2 separate regions of the Homo sapiens genome follow, and region 2 is linked to region 1. The links are contacts of gene promoters, found by promoter capture Hi-C in blood cells and fetal thymus (Javierre and others, 2016). All regions are on one chromosome and are shown on one strand. The core of a region is centred on a gene start or on the middle of the fragment in contact, and the rest is flanking DNA. Distances in the headings are between cores, read along the strand shown. Region 1 holds the start of ZBTB8A (zinc finger and BTB domain containing 8A). Region 2 holds the start of RNF19B (ring finger protein 19B).

Region 1 (5,695 bases), core at 1,992-4,491:
CAATGACATGTATTTCTATGAGTAGACTGAAGATTTAAGTAGCGAGTGTAACTTGAACTAAGGTTGTCGTTGAGAAGATCAACTCTCTTTTTTTGAGACGGAGTCTTGCTCTGTCGCCCAGGCTAGAGTGCAGTGGCGCAATCTCGGTTTACTGCAACCTCTGCCTCCCAGGTTCAAGTGATTCTCCTGCTTCAGCCTCCCGAGTAGTTGTGATTACAGGTGCCTGCCACTGTGTGCTAATTTTTGTATTTTTAGTAAAGAAGATGGGGTTTCACCTTCTTGTCCAGGCTGGTCTCGAACTCCTGACCTCGTGATCCACACCCCGCCCCCCCGACCCCCGAGGCCTTGGCCTCCCAAAGTGTTGGAATTATAGGTGTGAGCCACCACACTCGGCTGGGAAGATCAACTCTTTTAAGATATATAGTCATTAATCTAAAATTTAATGTGTCCCACCAGGGTCAGCAAAACTAATCTTGTTAGCCTGCTTAGCAAACGTTCCTGAGTCATAAAGAACTTCAGCTAACTAGAGTGGTAACTGTATTCCTTGATGGATAAATGATCCTTCAGCTTTGGAAGATTTAGAATTAAGTACAGATGCTCTTCAACTGACGATGGGGTTACATTCCAATAAACCTATTTTAAGTTGAAAACATTGTAAGTTTAAAATGCATTTAATACCCCATTAAACGCACTGTAAAGTCAAAAAATCGTAAGTCAAGCCATTGTAAGTCAGTGATCGTCTGTATTAAAAACATTTAAGAGCTATGGTTTGAACATTTGTGTCCCCTCCAAAATTCATGTTGAAACTTCATCCCGATTGCAACGGTATCATCTTTAGGAGGTGATTGGGCCACGAAGACTCTGCCCTCATGGATGGAATTAGTGCCCTTATAAAAGCACCTGAGGGAGTGAGTTTAGCCTCTTCTGCCCTTCCATTCCTTCTGCCACGTGAGGACACAGCAGTCCTCCCATCCAGAGGATGCAGCAACACGGTGCCATCTTGGAAGCAAAGAGCAGCCCTCACTAGACACCAAACTGCCTAAACTTCTCAGCCTCCAGAAGTGTGAGAAATAAATTTGTTCTTTATAATTACCCAGTCCCAAAGTATTTTTATAGCTGCACAAATGGCCTGAGACAGAAAAGATTTAGAATTAATAAAAACACTTAAGAGAATCAAAACTATAGTTGAGGAAAGCCTCATTGAGAAGATGGCATTTGGGTAAAGTCCAAAGGAAGTAAGAGAGTCATGTGGGTGTCTGGGGGAAGAGCATTTCAGGCAAAGGGAACGGCAAGTGCAAAGGCCCTGAGGTGAGCAGGCAAGGAGGCATGGGGGAAGCAATGGGATATGGAGTCAGAAAGGGAAAGCAGATCATGAGAGAAGTAGGACATGGTGAGACCAGGTGCTTGTAAGGCTGCATAGACTATTATGGAGCTTTTGGCTTTTAAACTGCGTAAGATGGGGAGCCACTGACCAATTTTGAGCAGAAAAGTGGCAAAAGCTTCATTCAAGGGAATCAAACACATCAAATCTTTAAATATGATTAACATATCATTGTGTCACTGAGTTAAGTCTATTACACAGTTTTATCTAAAAATTAGATTTAAATGACATACGATGAATTAAATTACTCTATCTTACAAAGTTTTTGATGGCCCCAAATCATTATCAACAGCGAAGCTGGTGATTTCAGGGCTAGGAGATAAGGGTTAGTGGTGTGGCCTCCTTCCTGGAGTCCCTACTCATTATGCCTCCTGCTGACATTTTAGAGCACAATCCACCCAGACACCCATTTGATCAAGGGCCCTAAGCCAGATTCTCACTTCCCAGTTGCCACTTGTGTGGCCAGAGAGGTTCCCAGGAATAAAGACATCTGATCCCTGCTTATCAGTGAGGGGCTCTTGCTCCAGTCTACAAACGCATCCATACCTGAGGCATGGAGGAGATAAGACTGGAGCAGAAGCTTGTTGAGGATTTTGGAGGCTTTCCTGAAAAAGATCAGTTAAGGTTTTTAGAGCAGGGAAGCGCTGTGTTAAGACTGGCCCTTCTAAAGACTCCTCTGGAGGTGCCTTAGGAGGGAAGGCAGGGCGGGAACAGGAGGCCCTGGGCGGCTATGGTCACCCTAGCCTAGAGGTGAAACGCCATGCTTCATACGTGTTCCCTCATCTGCAAAGTGGAATTACCGTCAGCCTGACTAGGTGGTTGTTTTATGTGAAATTAAGTGAAATAATTCATATAGGTGAAAGCACTCCATTTAAAGTTGTGCAACTATAAAGGTTTATCAAGCATAGAGGTGATATTGACGTGTGTGGTTAGAAGCCCACCAGGTGTGTGTGAATCTACCGCTTCCAAACGCGTCTTAGAATGATGTGGAGTAGGGCCATTGGAACAATCGGGGATACATAAGCGCATCTGAAGGGGAAGGGAACAAGCCGCTGACTAACTCACAAAAGAGGCGGTCCGCATGGGTAGAGATGAGCATGTAAGGTTCCGTCCAGAAGCAAATAGTTGGGAGCTCAACATTGGTTAGGCGCGGTGAGTTCGCCCTCGGTTCTAAGCCCAGATGTCGCATCTTGACATAAAACCAAGGATGGAGGCTGCACCGAGAAACTCGGGCTACTGCCCTGGGAGCCAGGTTCCCCGGCAGCGCCCCTGGCCGCGCCCGCAGAGACTCCGGCCCCGGCCCTGCCCTGCCCTCCCCGCGCGCCCCCGCGGCGGCCGCCCGTCTTTGCTCCGCGCAGCCCGAGCCCCTCCAGAGTCCGCGGCGCCCGACGGCTCCAGACACGCCCGGCGCCGTCCCCGCCGCCTTCCCGCCGCCGCCTCCAGGAGGCTCCGCGCGCCTTCCCGCCTTTCCCCGGGCCGGGCCGGGCGGCGAGGCGGGCGCGGGCGGCGACGGCGCGGCCATTGTCCCGCAGCCCCTCCCGGGCGCCTCCCGCCGCGCTCCCGGCCCGGGGACGTCTGGGGGAGGCGCGCCCGGGGCCCGCATCCCAGCACTGCCGCCGCCCGGGCCGTCAGAGCCCGCGGCCAGGCTCGCGGCGGGTCCCGGGCAGCCCCGACGCCCGCCCGCCCTCCGCCGGCGCCGCGTGCAGCCACTTACCGCGGGCCGCGGCGCACCGGCCGGTCGCGCGCGCGGGCCGAGGGAAGATTCCTGGTTCTCGGCTGGGGAAGGACCCCCTTTCGAGGCCGTTCCTTTGCGCCCTAAAACAAGTAGCCCCAACGTGAGAGAAACAAAAGGTATTTGCTGACGTGGGCGTTGGACAGAAACGCCCGAGGGCTGGGGACACAATTAAAGGGGCAACGCACAGATTTCAGGCACCAACCAGCAGCTTCGCCCACTCCCCCTGCCCTTGCCCACACTCGCTGCACGCTCCAGAGACACCGGGGTGCCCAGATTCTCTAGCAGTTGACTGCGGATCATGATTTTAGTCAGGAGCTGAAATTTAAAATTGTACTTTACGTTGGGAAAGGCGCCTCCGGAGGGCAGAAGGGCTGGATTTCTAGGATCTGGGGATTTGGTTTAGGAAAGAGGGAGGGACTTAGGCGTGCCCACAATTACTGTATAAGTACATGTGACATTATTGTACTTAAGTTTAGCAACGTCAAATGCAAAAGATTTCCACAGAATTTTCCCTTGTACTGAAGCAGTTATTTTAGTTGAGGATAACCTTTTCTAAACCTGTACAGGTCAGAAGCATTTCATTTGAATAGGAAAACCCAGAGAGGCTGAGATAAGAGAACATAATTCTTAGTTAAGTCCAGAGAAATATAAAATTAGTAAAAATAGCAAGTTGCGTCTTTTCCAATGCAAGCATTCATCGTACACCAAGCTTCCTCTGACAAATTTACGTCTCTAATATTTAGAGTACAGATATCAGGTTATACATTTGCTAAAATAGTAAATCAATGGATTTTCACTGTTACTGTAGAAGCATTACTTCTATAAATTAGTTTTCTAGTTCCTTATGCTGGGGTCAGGTACTGAAAAGTACTGTGTTATAGTAAAACTGGAGGGAAAAGGTTCAAATTATCAAAACTTGCGTTTAGCTTTTAATGGATTCCTCTCCTGTTCAAAATCATTCATATTGGACAGTTTGTAACTTTGATTTCAGGAATAATTAGCTATGCATTTTGAGGATACAAGATATTCACAATTGTCTCAATGTCACTTCTGTGTCACTGCAGAGGTGCTTTGCTATTTAGTTGCATTTCCTCACCTTCTGAACAGGTAAGTAGAAACATATTTGAAAACCATTAGGTGTCTGGTGTGTTGGATGTACTCAGATTACTCTGCTAGCGCCCCCATTGAGAATTCCCCCAGAAAGACCTGGACATGGTTTTAGCCAAAGGTTTTATTTTAGCCTTAGTTAATTAAAACATGCAAAAGAGTTCCACAAACATATTCCTCAAGAGAGCACATCAGGTTGGTGATAAACTCTTTGTTGAGGCCGGGTGTGGTGGCTCACACCTATAATCTCAGCACTTTGGGAGGCCGAGGTGGGCGGATCACGAGGTCAGGAGGTTGAGACCAGCCTGGCCAACATGGTGAAACCCCATCTCTACTTAAAATACAAAAATTAGCTGGGCATGGTGGTGCGCGCCTGTAATCCCAGCTACTGGGGCAGCTGAACCAGGAGAATGGCTTGAACACAGGAGGTGGAGTTTGCAGTGAGCCAAGATCGTGCCACTGCACTCCAGCCTGGGTGACGGAGCAAGACTCCATTTCAAAAACAAAAACAAAAACAACAAACAAAAATAACCTCTTTGTTGCAAGGAAGAGGTAATGAGAGTTTTGTCCCTCACCTTCATTCTCCTAGCTTTGGGAGCACGTTTCTGTATGCTAGAGCTCCACCATTAACCAGTGCTAGTCTCTTAAACTCTGTCTCCCACCCCACCCAACCCCCATCCCTGTTTCCACCTATTCAGTTCAAATCTTGAGGAAGATAATCCATTCCTTTTTTTTTTTTTTTTTTTTTTTTTTTTTGGAGACGGAGTCTTGCTCTGTCACCCAGGCTGGAGTGCAATGATGCAATCTCGGCTCACTGCAACCTCCGCCTCCCAGGTTCAAGCAATTCTCTGCCTCAGCCTCCAGAGTAGCTGGGATTACAGGTGCCCGCCACCACGCCTGGCTAATTTTTGTATTTTTAGTAGGGACAGGGTTTCACCAGGTTGCCAGGCTGGTCTTGAACTCCTGACTTCGTGATCCAGCCTCATTGGCCTCCCAAAGTGCTGGGATTACAGGCATGAGCTACCGCACCTGGTCCCATTCCAATTTTAACAGTGCCTGCTAAGGGTAAAGTTTTTGCTCTAGGCTCTTGGAATGCAGTGGTGAGCAAAAAATTCACCAAGTCCCTGCTTTTATGGGATTTGCAGTCTAGTGGGGGAGACAGATGGTAATCAAATAAATGTATAATTTGAAAATTGGATAAGTCTGAAGGAAAGGTATGTCGTGTGATGAGAATATTGATGAAGTGGGGACCCGTCTCATGAGGGAGAGGGTTTGTGTAAGGAGGACTTCCTTGAGGAGGTTATCTTGACTGGAAATCTGGAGTAGGAATTAACAGGCAAGCGTGTGAGTGGTCAGGAGCATTCCAGATAGAAGGAGCAAAATGGTGCTTGGTAGATGGGAATATAGCCTGAAAGGCTGATGAGACTGGAGTGCAACGTGAGGGAGAGAGACAAGAGATAAGATGGGAGAGG
Region 2 (5,695 bases), core at 1,427-3,926, 430 kb before region 1:
TCTTTTTGAGGCAATACTGAAAGCTTTGCATTGAGATAGTGGAGCCCAAGAGAGAAGTAGTCTGGATCTCTGAGTTACCCAGGAGAGTTGAGGAGAGCTACTCTGGAGAGTGCCTTAACCCACAGCCAGCGTTGCATGAGTGGAAAAGATATACCATTGTTGTGTGTTATGCCATTGAGAAATTTGGCTTGTTTGTTACCATAGCCAAGTCTAGCCTATTCTGCCAGATAAATATAGACATTAATTGTTGTTTTAGCCATCCAGCATCAAACCTCCTTCCTATTTGAGGATTAAACTCTCCCCCTCCTTTAGGACTCTTTGGTGTTGCCAAATCCAGTGGTCACATCTCTGTTCTTATCTTTCTTGATTTCTCAGCAGCATTTGTCACAATTGACCACTCCCTTCTGGGAACATACTATGTTGGTGTCTGTGACATCATGCCTGCTTAGTTTTTCTTTTATGTCACTGGCCCCCGCTTTTCAGTTTTCTTTGTTGGCTCCCCTTCTTGTTTTATGTCAAAAGTTTGAAGTTCTGGAGACCTGGTTTAAAATATCACAGCTGGTTTCCACCTTTTGAGACGATGTCTTTTTGTGTCACCCAGGCTGGAGTGCAGTGGCATAATCACGGCTCACTGCAGTCTCAACCTCCCAGGCTCAAGCATTCCTCCCACCTCAGTCTCCCAAGTAGCGGGGACTACAGGCACACTCCATCACACCCAGATAATTTTTGTATTTTTTGTAGAGATGGGGTTTTGCCATGTTGCTCAAGCTGGTCTCAAACTCCTGGGCTTAAGAGATTCACCAGCCTAGGTCTCCCAAAGTGTTGTAATTACAGGTGCGAGCCACAGCTCCTGGCCCATCTTACCATTCCTTATTAATAACAGAGCACTCATTGTTAGCTGGGCACATTGTACCCAGTTAAGAGAATGTTTCCCAGGCTCCCTTGCAGCTGAGTATGGCCATGTGAGTGAGTATGTTTTGGCAAAAATGTGCGGGACTTTCGAGGCAGTCCTTTTTTCTTTCTTTCTTTTTCTTTTTCTTTTTTTTTTTTTTTTGAGACAGAGTCTCGCTCTGTCGCCCAGGATGGAGTGCAGCGGCGCGATCTCGGCTCACTGCAACCTCCGCCTCCTGGGTTCACGCCATTCTCCTGCCTCAGCCTCTCGAGTTGCTGGGATTACAGGCGCCCGCCACCACGCCCGGCTAATTTTTTATATTTTTAGTAGAGACGGGATTTCACTGTGTTAGCCAGGATGGTCTCCATCTCCTGACCTCGTGATCCGCCAGCCTGGGCCTCCCAAAGTGCTGGGATTACAGGCGTGAGCCTCCGCGCCCAGCCCCAAGGCAGTCTTCTTAAAAGGAAGAGGATGCATCTTTCTTCCCTTTTTCCTTCCCACTGTTTGGAATATGGACCATAGTGAGGTGACCTTAACACTGGAAGCCAAATACTGAGGATGGCTGAACAGCCCTGAACTGCCTACTTTTGGACTTATATTTCATGGAAAGAGAGAAATTTCTGGCTAGGTGCAGCGGCTCATGCCTGTAATCCCAGCACTTTGAGAGGCCAAGGCAGGAGGATCGCTTGAGCCCAGGAGCTCGAGACCAGCCTGAGCAACACAGGGAGATTTCATCTCCATGAAAAAAATAAAAATAATAGGCAGGCCTGGTGGCGCACCTGTGCTCCCAGCTACTCCAGAGGTTGGGGTGGGAGGATCGCTTAAGCTTGGGAGGTTGAGGCTTCAGTGAGCTGTGATCACGCCACTGCACTCCAACCTGGGTGACAGAGCAAAACCGTCTCAGGAAAAAAAATAAATAAATTTCAATCGTAAGCTATTTTTTTCTTTTGTTATTTGCAATTGAATGTAATCCTGATACATTCCTGTTGTTGAAGCTGTTTGCCTGCCTCCCACTAGGAAGCCTAAGGGTCCAGATCCTCCCCCAGTCAGAGGAATGGGGAACTAGAAAAAGAAAGGCAAAGGCACTGCCAGGCAAGAAAACGCTGGGTCTCCTTCCACAAGTTTGGTAAGTAAGCAAGATACCAGGAGGATAGAATGGTAAGTGAGCCTAGAAATAGACTATTATATACATAGGGTTTATTAAATACATAGAGAACACTGAATGCTAGACTAAGAAATTTGGACTTTATTCTGGAAGTCCCTTGCAATAGGGGACCTTGTCTGTTTTATTTTCTAATGCCTCGCACTTTGTAGAAGCTCAGTGAATGAATATATTCTTTATTAATTTATGCCGTCTGCTTAATAAACAGAAATGTTGGAAGGTGAACCAGTTGGGAGTCACCATCTGATCAACCCCTGCCTGCTTTTTATAAATAATGTAACTGAACCATCATTTACTGGAAGTGGCAATCAACCTGTGAGGAACGGCAAACCAAAAAGTCCACCTTGGGTGTCATGGTGATGGAATTGGAGGCGGAGACCAGGGAGAGCAGCGGGCTAGGATCTCTGAGAGTCTCCGCAACATGGCGGCCCTGGAACCACCTGACCGGCAGGAGGCGGAGCTCCGCCCCAGCTCGCTCGGCCCCACCCCGCTCGGCCCTGCCCAGCGCACTCCTAGACCGGGGCGCAAGGGTTGTGAGGTGTTTGAGCGAAGCGCCTGCGCAGGGCAGCGGCGCGCGGGGCGGAGGCTTTATAATCACTTCGTCGTTGCCGCTCGGCTTCTATCGCCGGGAGGGCGGTTGAGGCGGTGGTGGCGGCGTCGGCGGCGGCCGGGCGCTGGCTGAGGGGCGCTGAGGCGGGAGCTGTGGCGGCGCTGGGCGCCCCTGGCTCCTCGGCCTCTGCCGGCCATGGGCTCCGAGAAGGACTCCGAGTCGCCGCGCTCCACATCGCTACATGCGGCCGCACCCGACCCTAAGTGCCGCAGCGGCGGCCGGCGCCGGCGCCTCACCTTGCACAGCGTCTTCTCTGCCTCGGCCCGCGGCCGCCGCGCCCGGGCCAAGCCGCAGGCCGAGCCGCCGCCCCCGGCTGCGCAGCCGCCGCCCGCCCCGGCCCCTGCCGCGGCCCAGGGCCCGCCGCCCGAGGCGCTGCCCGCCGAGCCGGCCGCCGAGGCCGAGGCGGAGGCCGCGGCGGCGGCGGCGGAGCCTGGGTTCGACGATGAGGAGGCGGCGGAGGGCGGTGGCCCGGGCGCGGAGGAGGTGGAGTGTCCGCTGTGCCTGGTGCGGCTGCCGCCTGAGCGGGCCCCGCGCCTCCTCAGCTGTCCGCACCGCTCGTGCCGGGACTGCCTCCGCCACTACCTGCGCCTGGAGATAAGCGAGAGCAGGGTGCCCATCAGCTGCCCCGAGTGCAGCGAGCGACTCAACCCGCACGACATCCGCTTGCTGCTCGCCGACCCGCCGCTTATGCACAAGTACGAGGAGTTCATGCTGCGCCGCTACCTAGCCTCGGACCCCGACTGCCGCTGGTGCCCGGCCCCGGACTGCGGGTGAGCGCGGGGGCGTGGCGCGGGTGGCGGCGGGCTGCAGCCGAGGGGCGTGGCTGGGGGCAGCAGGGACCCCGCGTGGGTGTCCCAAGCAGGGAAACCCGCAAGGCGGCAGCTTCGGCGGGGTGGTAACCATCAGGCAAGCCCAGACTAGTGGTGTGAACGCACCCGACACCCCGCCCCCTGCCCCAGGGCTCGAGGTGGCTGCTAAGCATTCGGTGAGGGGAAGGGAGCTGTCCAAGTTAGGAGACAGGGAGAGGCGGTTTTTTTGTTGGGGGAATGCCCTCTGTCCGGAGGTGAGGACAGTATCTTTTTTTTTTTTTCTTTTTTTTTTTGGAGACGGAGTCTCGCCCTGCCGCCCAGGCTGGAGTGCAATGGCGCGATCTCGGCTCACTGCAACCTCCGCCTCTCAGGTTCAAGCGATTCTCCTGCCTCAGCCTCCCGAGTAGCTGGGATTACAGGCGCCCGCCACCACACCCGGCTAATTTCTTTGTATTTTTAGTAGAGATGGGGTTTCACCATGTTGGCTAGGCTGGTCTCGAACTCCTGACCTCAGGTGATCCTCCTGCCTCGGCCTCCCAAAGTGCTGGGATTACAGGCGTGAGCCACCGCTCCCGGCCAAGGTGGGGAGTATCTCTTAATGAGAGTGGGGAGGGGATATTTGGCCAAGGAGGGAATGAGAATATTCTGAGGGGGCAGCGCGTCGGAGGGGTGTGTCCACTTGGCTAGGGACAGACTTAGCATTGCAGAAGAAGGCGTGTTCTCCCTGACAACCACCGCTGAAAGTTGGGATGGAGGTGACTGGGGAATAGGCTCTCGGGTACCCTGAGCACTATGTGTTCTGTGCCACGCTATCGGGAGGCACTCTGTCGTTCTTACCTTGCTGCCTTGGGTAGGGTGAGGGGTAGACAGATATGTTCTTTGTCCAGAGTCTCAATGGGGGCACTGAGAAGAATGCCCAGAGGTTGGTGTGATAGGAGAAATTGTGTTTCTGAACCCCTTTGATCTTGAGTTCTTGATGACAGTCTTTTTAATGCACCATGTAGGCTGAATTTTAAAGGGCAGTAAATTAAAATATGCAATATCTGCAGAGACATAATACACCAGATTTTGCTATCTGAAGCATTCAGTGGAGACCTTCCTCGCCCTCCCCGCCTTTAGAAGTCTAATTGTTACTGTCAGTATATCCCATGAAGGGGTTGCACGCAGGAAGAGGGGCTCATTTAAGTAGTTGGGAGTCAGACAGCCATTACCTGTTCTGTGACCTTGGGCAGATAATTTTATTCTTGTGTGTCATGTTTTGGCGACAAAAAGATGCTGGGGAGTCCTTGCAGTGTGTAAACGTAATGCTAGTAAAAAGTTGTGTGATCTTTAGCTTCAAAGGAGTTAAGGACTTTTAATTGTAGCCTATATATCAAGGTGGTTTTGAAATCTCCATGATGCTGCTGGTTGTCTCCTTTCAAAAGGAGCTGTCTTAGAGTGTCTAGGAGAGTAAGAAGAGTTAACTTCTGTTTTTAATTCTGCCAAACTTGTTTAGAAATGGGTGTGCTATTTAACCTCACTGAGATGGGGTTTCTAAATTACTTTGAAGTGTTGTGGTCAAAGGAATGGTGTTTATGGTGGCTCACTTTCACTTTCAGTTAATAAGTATCAGGAAGGACCTTTTAGGTTCATGGAACTGTCTATGTCTAGTGATCTTACTGGCCCTCTGAGGTTAATTTATATTAAAGTTTTACAGATACTGTTGATCTGTTTTCTTAACCAAACGAATATTAAGAGAACACAGGCCAGGCTCGGTGGCTCACGCCTATAGTCCTAGCATTCTGGGAGACCAAGGTGGGTGGATCACCTGAGGTCGGGAGCTCAAGACCAGCCTGGCCAACATAGTGGTATCCTGTCTCTGCTAAAAATAGAAAAATTAGCCGGGCATGGTGGTGCACACCTGTAGTCCCAGCTACCCAGGAGGCTGAGGCAGAATCGCTTGAACCTGTGAGGCAGAGGTGCAGTGAGCCGAGATCAGGCCACTATACTCCAGCCTGGGTGACAGAGCGAGATTCTGTCTCAAGAAAAAAAAAAAACAAAACACTGCATAGTTAATTTTGGAATAGTACATTAACTCCTTTCTGAGATGTTTCCTTGAGTTCTAAGAAATGTGGCAGATCATCTTTCTGGAAAAGGTCCCTGTTTGTTTTTTTATTTTTCTAAAGTCAGTTTCTGTCTTTGCTCACATCAATAAAAATGCACAGAAAATAATTTTCAAGCTT

What was found. Contacts are between HindIII fragments. The CHiCAGO score rates a contact against its expected background, and 5 or more counts as called.
Region 2: the fragment with the promoter of RNF19B here is called in contact with the fragment with the promoter of ZBTB8A in region 1 in 2 of 17 cell types (fetal thymus and erythroblasts); the score reaches 10.1 in fetal thymus.

Annotation. Positions count from the first base shown.
Region 1 is chr1:32,536,973-32,542,667 of GRCh38, reverse strand. It overlaps ZBTB8A (zinc finger and BTB domain containing 8A), which reads right to left and starts at 3,241. Exons shown (of 5, transcript NM_001040441.3): 1 at 3,096-3,241. It overlaps LOC124903952 (a long non-coding RNA gene), which reads left to right. Exons shown (of 2, transcript XR_007065669.1): 2 at 839-1,092. RefSeq lists a silencer at 2,509-2,878. The HindIII fragment of the contact is 1,864 bases long and covers 1,964-3,827 here.
Region 2 is chr1:32,961,790-32,967,484 of GRCh38, reverse strand. RNF19B (ring finger protein 19B) reads left to right here and starts at 2,676. Exons shown (of 9, transcript NM_001300826.2): 1 at 2,676-3,434. The coding sequence starts at 2,800. RefSeq lists silencers at 2,392-2,961, 3,322-3,531 and an enhancer at 2,577-3,081. The HindIII fragment of the contact is 3,974 bases long and covers 1,721-5,694 here.